Linked DNA regions of Homo sapiens: all the other regions are linked to region 1. Evidence: promoter capture Hi-C in 16 types of primary human blood cells and fetal thymus (Javierre and others, 2016). All regions are on one chromosome and are shown on one strand. Each heading gives the region's core, a stretch centred on a gene start or on the middle of the fragment in contact. The rest is flanking DNA. Distances are from core to core; before and after follow the strand shown.

What was found. Contacts are between HindIII fragments. The CHiCAGO score rates a contact against its expected background, and 5 or more counts as called.
Region 2: a contact is called between a fragment that was not itself captured here and the fragment with the promoter of OSGIN2 in region 1, in 1 of 17 cell types (monocytes). The highest score is 5.1, in monocytes.
Region 3: a fragment that was not itself captured here is called in contact with the fragment with the promoter of OSGIN2 in region 1 in 4 of 17 cell types (monocytes, M0 macrophages, M1 macrophages and 1 more); the score reaches 10.8 in monocytes.

Annotation. Positions count from the first base shown.
Region 1 is chr8:89,901,173-89,905,790 of GRCh38, reverse strand. It overlaps OSGIN2 (oxidative stress induced growth inhibitor family member 2), which reads right to left and starts at 3,221. Exons shown (of 6, transcript NM_001126111.3): 1 at 2,954-3,221. The coding sequence starts at 2,997. It overlaps LOC124901974 (a long non-coding RNA gene), which reads left to right and starts at 3,385. Exons shown (of 2, transcript XR_007061001.1): 1 at 3,385-3,772. RefSeq lists silencers at 1,597-1,656, 2,650-3,099, 3,130-3,469, 3,219-3,517 and enhancers at 3,811-4,576, 4,577-4,618. The HindIII fragment of the contact is 4,461 bases long and covers 1,750-4,618 here.
Region 2 is chr8:89,827,020-89,831,633 of GRCh38, reverse strand. No RefSeq gene overlaps it. Among named protein-coding and RNA genes, the nearest start is that of RIPK2, 72 kb to the right of the region's middle. The HindIII fragment of the contact is 6,814 bases long and covers 1-4,614 here.
Region 3 is chr8:89,788,938-89,793,254 of GRCh38, reverse strand. It overlaps RIPK2 (receptor interacting serine/threonine kinase 2), which reads right to left. Exons shown (of 11, transcript NM_003821.6): 10 at 3,773-3,934; 11 at 2,191-3,176. The coding sequence ends at 2,839. Among named protein-coding and RNA genes, the nearest start is that of RIPK2, 33 kb to the right of the region's middle. RefSeq lists a silencer at 2,847-3,047. The HindIII fragment of the contact is 1,194 bases long and covers 1,553-2,746 here.

The sequences.
Region 1 (4,618 bases), core at 1,972-4,471:
TCAAGCAATGAAGAACCAAAGTTTAGTTTATCCAAATTCTCTACACATTAGCTTATCTAAATTTACATAGTATAGGTAATCTGCTCTGATTTTTCAGGAGCCACTGGTATAAACTCTGTGATAAACTATTTGTAGTAAACCTGCCTCCTATTTGATAGTGGTTTAACACAAAGAAAAACAAGGAAACAAAAACGGAAAGTGTGATTCACTGGTTTTACATAAAACATTAATGAAACAAGACTTTTAGTAATTATTCTTTCTAAAAAATTCAGAGCTTAAGTTATAAATTTAGTATTGCTGTACATGTTTTATAGTACATGCACAGTATATCACAGGTCTATGAACAGTGTTAATCTCTAGATTTCCAATTTGATATTTGTTCTATTTAAAACAAGAGCTTATTTTGAGTAATAAAAATCTACTTTTTCTTCGAGGCACAAATTAAAATTGGAAAATATGTACAATTACATTTAGCAACTAGTAAAGAACAGCACTTTACATGCAAAATTAGTTACTCTATTGTTAGGAAGCAAGTTAAAAGCCTATTTGACATTTAAGATGCTTTTAGAGGCCTTCCATTTTTTGTTTTTGAAACATTACAGCACAAAGTTTCAGAGAACATTTCAAAGGATAGTGTGGACATAGTATCAGGATAACAAAAAGACTTTTTCCATACCATAGCAGTACTTGTTTAAATGATCATTCAAACTAAAATGAAATGCTTTACTAACTGAATTTTTATAGTCTTTGGAACCATGAACCTAAAATTTACCAAATTTATACTACCACATGGAAAGAAGGTTCTAAAGCCACAAATGAAGTCAGTCACACTCTTCATCTTCCAGAACACGAAGGAAGAGGTTTTTTCCTTTGGAAAGTTAGTGGACAGTTCTCTCACTACTTATCCATTCAGATGTTAGACAATAGATGTCACAACCTGTTTTATAATCTGTGTTTTTTTGTGTGTTTTTTGTTTTTTTGAGACAGTCTCACTCTGTCGCCCAGCTGGAATGCAGTGGTGCGATCTCAGGTCACTGCAACGTGTCTCCTGGGTTCAAGCTATTCTCCTGCCTCAACCTCCCGAGTAGCTGGGATTACAGGTGCACACCACCCTGCCCGGCTAATTTTTGAGTTTTTAGTAGAGACGGGGTTTCACCATGTTGGCCAGGATGACCTGAACTGACCTGAAACTGCTCGAGAAATAGCACTGGTAAATCAGAAACATATTCCTGAAGGAGCTGGTAAACAACTAAAAAAAAAAATACTTTAGACACAACAGAACTGTTTTTGCAATAAAAAGTGTGGTTTATTAATCATAATGTTTATCTTTGGCAGCTAGCTTGTTTTTCTTTCTGTCCCTCCAGACCAAAACATAGCAAATACTTTGTTTTCACTCCCTACTCCAAATTTCTGTGCACGGCAGGAAGCAAATGGTATTCAACACCCAGTATTAGTCAAAAGAATATGAATCCTACACTGTGCATCAAAAGGTGTCAAATAGCTTTCACACAATATTTTCTGAAAGGCATGTTAGATTCTCATGGGCTTTATTTAGTTTAACAAGTTTCACTAGGGGAACCTATTTCCTAAAAGTTTCCATAGTGAATCTGATACCTTCAAACCGCTGTCTCAGTAGTCAACAAATTTGCCTAAAAGTTAAAATCAAGCAGTTTATTATATGAAACAATTTTTCCTTAATATCCACAACCTAGAGACTCATTCTAAACTCACTGAGAGGTTAGACAAGCTTGGATTATCGCTGTTACAAAAGAAGTTCCAAACTTTCTCTATGCCTTACATCTCTTTTACTATAGGATGACGCTTCTTAACCTCTTCTCTGAATACTGTTCTTAAATATACACAGGATTTACAAGAAAACTAATTCTATTAAAACAGTCATAAAAAGTAAACGCGATATATATATGTGCTTCTCTGTTGCATTCAATAAATTCAGTGATGTGTTACTATAATTTTGAATAAGTATAAACAGTATTTCTATATTAACTGCAATGTGATATAAACATATTTTATGATCTCTACTGATGACAGTCACAGATACTACTGTGATTTGTTGCTTATATTTTAACTGAATATTAGTTTTTAAAATTTAGTGAAATGATATACCTTTCTTTCCATCCAAGTTCATGGGTTACCTAAATTGTATGAAACCCACTATTTAGGAAGGCTTGATCAAAATTTCATATTTTACCAGGGAAGAAGTCTTACATAGAATTATTCTGGAACATCAGTATATGTAAAGCAAGGTACTAAAGTATTCCCTATGCTTAACCATTCTTCACCCCAGGGTTAAAATCAGTTTCTAGTGTCTGGTCTTTCCACCAATGACTGAGGTGTTGACCAAATGTGCTAGATCTAGAAAACATACTTTTATTTTAGAAATGTATTATATTTTATCACCCCTAAAACCTTTCCCCATAAGGTGATTGTAAAACCGCCTCATTCTTTAAATTTCTACAACACACACGTCTTACCATGGCTAACATCTTAACAAGGCAGAATCTATTTGTGATTAGATGACACTGAAATGTAGTTCCCTACCTTCCTTCCACTCATTACATTATTTAGAAGACTTTTTAAGAAATAATTTTTTTTTAGGGAGGCAGGCACTTCGTAGAACCCCCTTCACTAAAACTTTGCACTACTGGGAAGTCTCAGCTCGCCGTAACCGACTCAGTCCGGCCTAGCCGATCCCGCAGTCCCGTGACCCGCGCGGTCCAGAGCGAGAAAAGGGAACAGCGCAGGGCTCCCCGGAGCAAGGACCCCACCACACCGCACCCCACCCCACCCCCACGCCAGGCAGGACGGCCGAGGCGGGAGGACGCTGCGGTCCAGGCGCTCGCCCTCCACCCCGGTCCCGGCCCGGGCCAGGCCAAAAAGCTCGAGAGCGCGGCATCCCCGCCTGCTCCCCTCCCATCCCCGGCGAGGAAGTCACCTGAAATGACCGGCCAGGGAGCAGCGGCAGCACCACACGGGCATGGAGCGCTGCGCGAGGGGCGCCCGAGCGCGGCCGCCGTGGCCGCCTCCGCCTCCCCCGGCGAGGCTGCCCGCTCGGGGCGCCCGCTGGCTCGGGGTCGCGGGGTCTGCCGGGCGCCCCTGCCTCGCGCCTCGCCGTTGCCGCGGCTGCCCCGGCTCTGTGGCGCCGGAGTCCGCCTCCAGATAGCGGCTTCCGCTCCTCGCCTGCAGGGAGCCAGGCGCCGGAGGCGGGTGATCTCGGGGCGCCGCGATAGGGGCGGAGCGGGGCGGGGACGCTGCGACGGCGGCTGCAGCGGCGCGCGGGCCCCTCCTCGCAGGTGCGGCTGCGGCGGGCGAAGTCTGCGATTGGTGGAGCCACGGCCCGGGCGAGGGGCCGGGCCTGATGGAGCCGAGGCTGCGCGGGCAGGGGACCGAGGTCTGCAGGCAAACTGCGCGGCTCGACCGGCGGCAATCGAGACCTAGACCTCGGTCAGCGCCCCGCCGCCCCTCTGCGTGCGACTTGGTGAGGCCGGTGGGTGCGCGTCGAGAGGGCCGAGGGACGAGCGGAAGAGAAGCTGCTGCGAACTCGGGCCACCCAGATGGCCCGGCGGAGTTCCCTGCGTAAGGCGCGGCCTCGGCCACTTCGCCGAGGACCCCGGGAAGGGTCGAGCTTCCCACGCCTGAGAACCCACCTTTGGGCATTTCCTCGCGCTGCCGGGGTGCAGACGCCGGGAGCTTCCGGGTGCCTCTCCCGCTGACCCCCGCATCACAGTTACCTGGAGGACTCACCAAACCACAGGTGCCCGGGACCCGCCCACCACGCTTCTTTTATGGAAGTCCCGCTTCCGGGAAGAGGTCATCCTCCCCTCTTCATGTCTCTCAAACACCCACAAGTGTAGGAATTACCAGCACGCCGGGTGAAAATCCAGGTGCTCATCAGGCCCGCCCCAGACCACACCGGCCAGTGTGGGGAAGGGCAGGAACCCCTGCTGCTTTTTAAGCCCCTGCGGGCGTTTGTGATGCAATAGGGAGTTAGAAAAGTACTCAATAGTGAGTGTCGTTATTCGGTTTGTCAAAAATTAAAGGTGGGGAGGACAAAAATCAGGAGAGATTGATTGCATCTACTTTTCTACGGAAATGTCTAACTCCGCTTCCAAAAAAAGCCGTAATTATTTTTGTGCTTCAAATATACGTTTATGTTTATATCTTTCAACATAATTTTGTAAAACAAATGTTAAGTTTTACTGAATGTTGTCACTGAACAAACTTGTGATGAGCAGGTATTTTAGAGTCTTGGGGTCTTAAAAGAAAATCATAGGACTCAGACTGCCCCAGAGTTATGCAATCTAAGAGTATATTAACCACTTTTAAGTATTATATGTTTTTCTCTTTTTTGAGCTTTTGTCGATTTGACACGTTCATTTCATTTGAATGTTGGTTCTGAAAATGAAGCATGTAGTTACTTTTCCGTTAACATACATAACAGCATTTTAAAGTACCTAAATTCCTTTTGGAAGGCCGAGGCGGACGGATCACCTGAGGTCAGAAGTTCCAGACCAGCCTGACCAACATGGTGAAACCCGTTTCTACTAAAAATACAAAACCTAGCCCCGGGCGTGGTGGCACGCGCCTGTAATCCCAGCTA
Region 2 (4,614 bases), core at 146-2,645, 72 kb after region 1:
TTTTCTCTTTCTTCTTTTTAAGAGACGAGGTGTTGCTCTGTCACTTGGGCTGGAGCGCAGTTGAATGATTATAGCTCTCACCGCAGACTCAAAAACTCCTGGGCTCAATCAATTTTTTTTTTTTTTTGAGACGGAGTCTCTCTCTCTCACCCAGGCTGGAGTGCAGTGGCGCGATCTATCTTGGCTCACTGCAAGCTCCGCCTCCCAGGTTCACACCATTCTCCTGCTTCAGCCTCCCAAGTAGCTGGGATTACAGGCATCCTCCACTATGCCTAGATAATTTCACATCTTTAGTAGAGACAGGGTTTCACCATGTTGGCCAGGCTGGTCTCGAACTCCTGACCTCAGGTGATCTGCCCGCCTTGGCCTCCCAAAGTGCTGGGATTACAGGCGTAAGCCACTGCACCTGGCCTCAATCGCTTCTTCTGCCTCAGCCTCACAAACAGCTGGGATCCTAGGCGCAGGCTACCATGTCAGGCTCTGCTATTTTCATTTGATATGTAATCATAAATATTTTTCTATGTTTTTTGGGATATCATTTTTATAAGCCACGGAATTCTCCTCCAAGTTGATGCATAGTTTCTTTTGTTATTGTTTGTTTTTATTCTTACAAATAAGAGTATAGTTAACAAGTTAACATTGCCACACTTATCTTTTCAATTCTGTTAAATTTTATCCTTACGATAAATTCCTAGGTATGTATGTTTGATAAAGAGTAGGTTTTTAAAAAGTTGTCTTTGTTTTTCATAGGTATTTTTTTTTTCTTTTTGAGATGGAGTCCCACTCTGTCACCCAGGCTGGAATGCAGTGACGCGATCTCAGCTCACTGCAACCTCTGCCTCCCAGGTTCAAGTGATTCTCCTGCCTCAGCCTCTCGAGTAGCTGGGATTACAGGTGGCAGCACAATGCCCAGCTAATATTTGTGTTTTTTTTAGCAGAGACGGTGTTTCCCCATGTTGGCCAGTCTGGTCTCAAACTTCTGAAACCAGGTGACTCACCTGCCTCAGCCTCCCAAAGTGCTGGGATTACAGGCGTGAGCCACCATGCCTGGCCTCTTTCTCATAGGTATTTCTTTTATTTAAAAAATTAATAAGACGTGCAGGACTCGGTATGAACAAAGAAAAAAAGGAAATTTTAAAAATAAAAAACCATACAAATAATGCATAAATAAATGCTAGTTGAGAAATTCTCAAGCCATATGGTGAGGCAATTTCAGACAGTATATATTTTACCTACTTTGATTGGATTTGGTCTTTCAGGCTATATTTTCCTTAAGCACATGAATCCTATAATTGAGAGCCTGGCATAGAATCAGTAGCTAAAAGAATAATAGATAATGAGTTGAAAGATGTCTTCCAACAGAAGAGACAGCATAGCTACCATACTTTGCCAAAACAATAAATTGATTTATGGTGTTATAGAGATGCAATTTTAAATTCACTGGTATAAATTTCCAGGTTTGTATACTCACAATGTATACAGTCATGCTTACTATGTTAAGAATCTTTTTAAAGAAACTTTTATAATGTAGTTCCTCATGGATTATTATTTATATCTTCATCAATCCGCCTTTCAGTTTCCTACTCTGAGCTTACTCTTACCCAGGAAAGCTCTTTAAACTAATCTCACTTCTCGTGATCATGAACATCCCTCAGCTTACTCACTCTCAAGGTCATTATTTATTCATTTAGCCAATAGATAATTGCCAAGTCTTCTAGATGCTGAAGCTAGAGCAGTGTCTAAGAGACAAATAAGATCTCTGTTTCTGTGGAGTATTGTTGGAGGAGGCAGATAACACAAAGAAATGGGCATTTTAAGATTGTAATAAATACTATGAGAGTAAAATGGAGATGGGGCCTAAGAGTGGCTCACACCTGTAATCCCAGCACTTTGGGAGGCCGAGGTGGGTGGATCACGAGGTCAAGAGATTGAGACTATCCTGGTTAACATGGTGAAACCCATCTCTACTAAAATTACAAAAAATTAGCTGGGCGTGGTGGTGAGTGCCTGCAATCCTAGTTACTTGGGAGGCTGAGGTACGAGAATCACTTGAACCTAGGAGGTGGAGGTTGAAGTGAGCCAAGATGGTGCCATTGCACTCCAGCCTGGGTGGCAAGAGTGAAACTCCATCTCAAAAAAAAAAAAAAAAAAGGAAAAAAAAACAACAACGAAAAACAGGGAGATGAGACTGAGATTGTCTAAGGCAGGGCGTTGGGGGAAGAGGGTTACTCTCATATGGTGATAATGAAAGGCTTCTGAAAGCATCTGAGCTAAGACCTAAATGATGAGGAATGAGCATTCCAGGTGGAGGGAGAAAATCCCCTGGGGAAGCCAAAGGTTTGTCCTACAAAACAGAAAAAATGCCAGAGGGAGTAAGTGCATGTGGCAGGAGGTGAGCTTGTCGAAATTTTTTGGGAACTGATCATATTGGACAGTGTGGGTCATGCTAAGAACCCACAATAGTTATTATGCTTGCAAGGGGAGCACACTTTGGAGGTTGTTGAATAGGAGAGTAAAATGATGTGATTTACTTTTTAAAAAGATGATCTGGCTGCTGTATGTCTTGTCCAAGATCAATCTCCACCCCATCTTGTGATAACATCCAGTGTCTAGCACATAGTGAGTGCCGAATGACTGAGCACAAATTATCCATTCCATTTCCAATATCTTCTGTATAATCTCTCCTTAACTGTCCTTTCCTTCCCACTTCTCTGACCACAGGAAAAATCCTTATTCATTAAGATTCAGCTAAAGCATTACTGTTCTGGGAAGCCTTTCTGATCTGCAGAGCTGAGTGAAATACCCGCCTCTATGCAGTTTTTGGACATTGTGCTCGCTTCTGTTATAATACTTAACATAATTATCGGTTAGGTTGTCTTCCCTCCCTATAGTGCTTAGCAAGGCCTATTTCTTATTCTTACTTAATCTTCAGTGACTATGTTAGATGATCTGCACATAGTCTGTTCACCTAAACTGCCCTTAACTGTTGATGTATTTGTTAATCACTTGGTATTACCCAACTTTGAAACTGACTCTAGAGAGGGTGACCTCTCTAGAAAACCTTTCTAATCTCAAGCCAGCTCTGTACTCCCTTCACAATATTGTAGCTTCACCCTAGATAATTCTTATTTTGCATTAAAATCTTGGCTTCCAGCTGGGCACAGTGGCTCATGACTGTAATCCCAGCACTTTGGGAGGCTGAGGTGGGTGGATCACGTGAGGCCAGGAGTTTGAGACCAGCCTGGCCAACATGGCAAGACCTTGTCTCTACTAAAAATACAAAAATTAGTGGGTGTGTTGGTGCACATCTATAATCCCAACTATTCGGGAGGGTGAGGCACAAGAATCACTTGAACCTGGAACAATGAGATTGCAGTGAGATGAGATTGTGCCACTGCACTTCAGCCTGAGCAACAGAATGAGAGCAACTCATTTCATCCAAAGTGGACATAAACCTGTTTTTATTATTAGGCATAAATTATTTGGGGACAGAATTACATCTAACTTATTTCTGAAATCCTGGTCTCTACTACCGTGTCTGGCACGTTGCAAACACAAAACAGGTGGTAATTATTATGAGTCTGAGATTCCCAAAGCCATGATCCACTGATGTTTTCCATTAAGACAAGTTACATCAGTAGAAACAATATTAAAATCCTCCCTTTATAGTATTTCCATTGAATAAATATTTTTAATCAAAATTTATTTTTATCTTTGCAATGATTCATAGAAATTAACCTTTCTATGTAAAAAACTAGATAGGGCAGAAATTTTAGTCATATATTAGAAAAAAGTAATCATCTTTTTGCAGTAGTTAAGAGCAATCTATCTTTTATTTAGTTGGTAAAAATGTTCAAATGTAAATGCATAGAGATAAATTTTCCTAGCTGTGGTAGATAACTCATCCCTCAGACTTGGAAGTGCAAGAAATGCCAAATAGACTGAAATGAAGATTAAGGTAAGTCTTTGGTTTTTATGCTTGTTTTCACACATGCTGGCAGCTATAATGGAAAATTAGGAATTCAGCCACATGAATGTCTGCTCTGTCTCCTTTTGTGTCTGGAAGAGAGGCAGCAGAATGGCCCTCTGGGTGTGGAAGAGGATCAGCTTCCCTATGCTGTTTTCCTTTTCCGTCATTTTGAAATCCATAAAGCATCAGCAGCAAGAACAACAACAGCAAAACACAAGTATAACCTGAAAGCATAGTGTATAGTCAGGGGAAGAAACGACTTTCAATCACAGTTATTTCATGAAGAAAAACTAATGTTTATATGACTATACTGTAATTAAGATTACAAACTCAAAAACTAATGGAGCTGGGTGCGGTGGCTCACGCTTGTAATCCCAGCACTTTGGGAGATCGAGGCTGGTGGATCACTTGAGGTCAGGAGTTGAAGACCAGCCTGGCCAACATAGTGAAACCCCATCTCTAAATTAGCCGGGCATGGTGGCATGCACCTGTAGCCCCGCCTACTCAGGAGGCTGAGGCAGGAGAATAGCTTGAGCCCAGGAGTTCAAGACCAGACTTGTCAACATGGTAAAAATCCCCTCTCTACCAAAAATACAAAAATTAGCTGGTCTCATAATCCAGTCAATAAATAAATAAATAAATAG
Region 3 (4,317 bases), core at 900-3,399, 110 kb after region 1:
CTTCTGAAGTTCTTCCCTAAAGAACTGAGTTGTAGATTCTACTATAGTGATCTGATTTTCATGTTTAAGTGAAGCTATCTTTCCAAAATTCAAAGCATGATTAAAATTGTTTTGAGAATTCAAATTGGATGCAAAACAAAAGTAAAATTTTGTAATCAAACGTCAGTTCAGAGAGTGAACATTCTGAAGGCACGTGGCAATCAGAGTTCATGAAAACACATCTGTGAACCTAGAGAGAAATTATTTTATGCACAAATCTATAGTGTTTCTTAAAATAAAGGGTCTTGAACTTTACCGTGAGTAAAAATCGCTTGGAGAGTTTGTTAAAACAGATTCCTAGACCTCACCCCCAGAGACTGAATCAGTCGGTCTGAGATAGGAGCCATGAAGTTTCATTTCTAACATGCTATAGGTGATGCTAAATGTAGCCAGTCTGTGCACTGTACTTCTGGGTAGCACTGTCTTAAAATGCACTGCAAGGAATGACATCTCTAGCATTATCTAGTACTAGCTAGTTAAAAAATAAATTACTAGGTCCCTTCCTGGAGTGACTGAATTTTAATCTGTCATTTTCTTACTACTTCTATGATTGCTGGCCCATTCATGTCCTATCTATATTATAATTTACTTAATAGTACTTAAATTGTCTTTATTTAAATATTATGTAATAAAACTTTAGTATAAACAGAAAACTATTACTTGTCATATGTAGAAGTATAAATTTCAAATAGAATGCAACAAAAAAAACCATAAAATTCTTGGTAAATAGTCTCTGAAGTTCTGAGCCTAAAGCCTATTCTCATTTTGTTAACGAGGGGGATAAAAAGATGTTAGCAAAAAAATTGAGATATTCTCCTTTATTTAATTATAAGGCTCAAAAAAGAACGGAAAAGAATGTCCTTTACTAAGTGACTCAAATGCCATTTAGTGGTGAGCCTACATATGACCTAAAATAATCCCACTTACTACTAGCTGTGCTTGCACTACATTTTTGGAAATAAGATTTAAAGGAAACATCTCCCCTTCTCTATGTTTTCATTCCATTGCACTATTCATTAAAGAGTTATTCAAAAAGTGCCTACTCTATGCCAGACCCTGTTCTACACTAACTAGTCATACTCAGCATAATCTGTCTCATCTTCCTCTAAGTAGCAGTTACTAAATAGGGGTTATAATAAAAACCAACTGCTGAGATTGTAACAATCCCATGAAGAGATGATGAGAGCTCACTGCAGATTCATCTTAATCCCTGACAACATCTTCTTACTTATCAACATGTTATTATTTACGCAGAAAAAGTTTGCAGAGCTGTGATGACGGATGACTACACGTGTCTTCCATACAGAAAATTGTGGGAGAAAGTGACTGTAAGCACATAGCCATAAAGCACACAAACTATGAGTTTTTAGATCTTTGCAGAGAATAAAAAACAAGGCAAAGTTCATTTTATCAATCCAGATATACCTCATGAAATCAGTATAAACATCAATTTGAGGCCATCAATAGTCAAAATAATTTCTTTTTAGAGTATGTATAGAGAAAAGGGAAAGCTTCCAAAATAATTTTCTCTATTTATTACTTCACAAATAAAATTTGCATCTTAATGCTTTTTAAAATTTAATAGATAACTCATGTGTTTAGTTTTCACTTTTCCCTATTAATTTCCATATTTCTGAAAGGCACAGTAAGAGGTACAAGTTAATGTCAAGCTCTAAAATGGAGATTAAAATGCTTATATTTCTAATTAATATTTAATTACCTCAATGGCATCTAATTTCTTTTATTCAAACTTTTCAGGTTGTGGGTCTGTTGCTTCTTGAAAGTTCATCTTTTCAAATTTATTCTGTATCTCACTTTCTGCTGACTTCGCTACGCAGTTTCAGAAAAGGGCTATTATTCCTTGTAAGTTCTCCTATAGTAATATAACCTATTAACCAAAAAAGTGCTCACACCGTACTTTTATTGTTTGGGCTAAATTTGATATGGACAAGTTAAGAAAATAAAAACTGTGGGTATTAGGCAGCAAGTAAAAAGAGTAAGTTAGAGCCATATCTGATCTGGAAGGCTGTACTATTAAATGCAAAAAGCAGGTTGCAGTATGATGTATAATTATAATAATAATATGCAGAAAGATCCTTTCTCAAATGAGCATATGTTCTAAATATAAGCAGGAAGAAAGGGACAGAAAGATACACATCAGGCTGTTGACTTTATTTAGCTTGGTTGTTGGTGACAGTAGGGAAGGCTGAGGTTAAAAATGGGGACAGGAAGCCGGTATTAATATATTTATTTTTTTCTTTATATTGTATTGTTTTACCTTTGAAATATCATTTTTAAAGGGAATTCATAAATAAAACTTTAAAATGTAATCCTAATAATGGAGTTTTAAATTAATAACCCTTTGTAGGGCAATTAAGCCTGGGATTTTAGGGCAGGGATTCTGTACTGTCTCTGGTGGGTAAAGGGTATATACTTCATAAAATCAAATTGCATCTTAGACAAGTAACAAATAATCCATGAAGAACATGAATGTGAAAATGGCTTCCATCAGAAATACATCATACCTTAAGGCACTGTTATAAACAAGAATAATTACTATCCTTTAAAAGTGGTTTCTGTTAACAAAAGAGACATAAAAATTGAACTATGTAGCAAAATTCAAACTTTTTACTTGTATTAATTAAAAAAAATACTGCAGTGTCATGGAGGGAGACTAATATTTACCCAAAGAACCTTCAATAAAGCTTTAATACTCACGGATTTTATATAAAAAAAGTCAAAGCAACAGAGATATAAATATCCTTTTATGAAACACATTTCTTCTTGAAAAACAGTCACTTACATGCTTTTATTTTGAAGTAAATTTAAAGATGGTGATCTAGAAACCACAAGTATTTCCGGGTAAGGCTGAAGACCCATTTGTTTGTTATCTTTCAATTTTTGTACTATAACTTTGGCAAATTCTTCTCCTTGGATGTCAGTAGTGTCTAGTAATTGTCTGACTTTTGAGGTCCTTGTAGGCTTGGTACTAACAAGTTCATAGTCCTCTTTCATGATCAAGTCCCTGGACAGAAGGGCATCTAGCGACTGGTTAAGGCAGGCTTCTGTCATTTGGTTCACAATGTCTTCCCTTTTGCTCTGGATCCACTGCTGGGCTATACCAGGCTGCAGACGTTCTGAAAAAGAACAAGGAATGAATAATTTAAAAGGTGAGGACAGATACATAGCAATAAGTAAAATTCCATGAAAAATAAATAAAGCATAAAACATAATTTTCCTATGATTGTGCCAATATGGAACACCAACACTTTGGGGAATGGTGTCATTTTTCAGGAAACATTCAGAGATTTGGGTTATCTCCCCCTCACTCCCCAGAAAAGGCATTGCCTTTTCCTATGGTATAAATCACGGGGCAAAAACCACTTTATGTCATCATTTCCATCTTCTGGGATTTGTTCAGTTTTGTTTGATGTCCATTTTATTTCAAATATAAAAGATACCTGCAAATTTTTTAAATAAACAAAAATAACTTTACCATTAGTAATATGTTAATACCTCCTCTTAGCACTGCCTCCCTATTTAGATGTTCATAGAATACCATTTGGGCCATGTCATCATTCCCATCTCCTGGGATTTGTTTTCCTACTTAAGAAGGTATGTATTTATCATATTGAGGAAATAAAGACAAACCTCATTGTATGGTAAATCCACTGAACACAGATATGTAAGGTCAATGGCATCACTTACAAGGTGTTTCACAGTAAATATTTACCTGAGTTTCCTGCAGTTGAGAGTGGATTTATTATTGCTGAAGAGCATGGAGTGGTCTTGTGATCACAGAATGCAGCCCTTTGAGATCCAGAAATGGTGCTATCCCAACTGTGATTTCCAGGACAGTGATGCAGCTTCATAAAATAACAGTCTTGAGCTTTTCCTACAAAATACAACATCTTCATTAGAAGTAGAATACTCCTTAGAAATTCCTATTGGCTAACATGTCAACATCTGAGCAGACAGAAGGTAGGCTCCAATGTCTTTAGTTTCCACTAATATTAAGGCTGGTTCAGAAACCTAATTCTGCAAGTAGATATTTCTTAAAACAAAAAAGGGTTTATATGGAATGCTTTCACTACAATTTCTGTCAGAAATTGTCTGTTCTGTGTAAATTATAAATCATAGAATTTTACTTCTTTACATAGTCCCATATTTTTCCTGTGTGTCTTCTTACTCCTTCTGAAGTTTAAGTATGTTCTCTAAATCTATATATGATGTCTGTCTTTCTAGTTTCTCTTCTGGCAATCCCACTGAGCCTCAGGG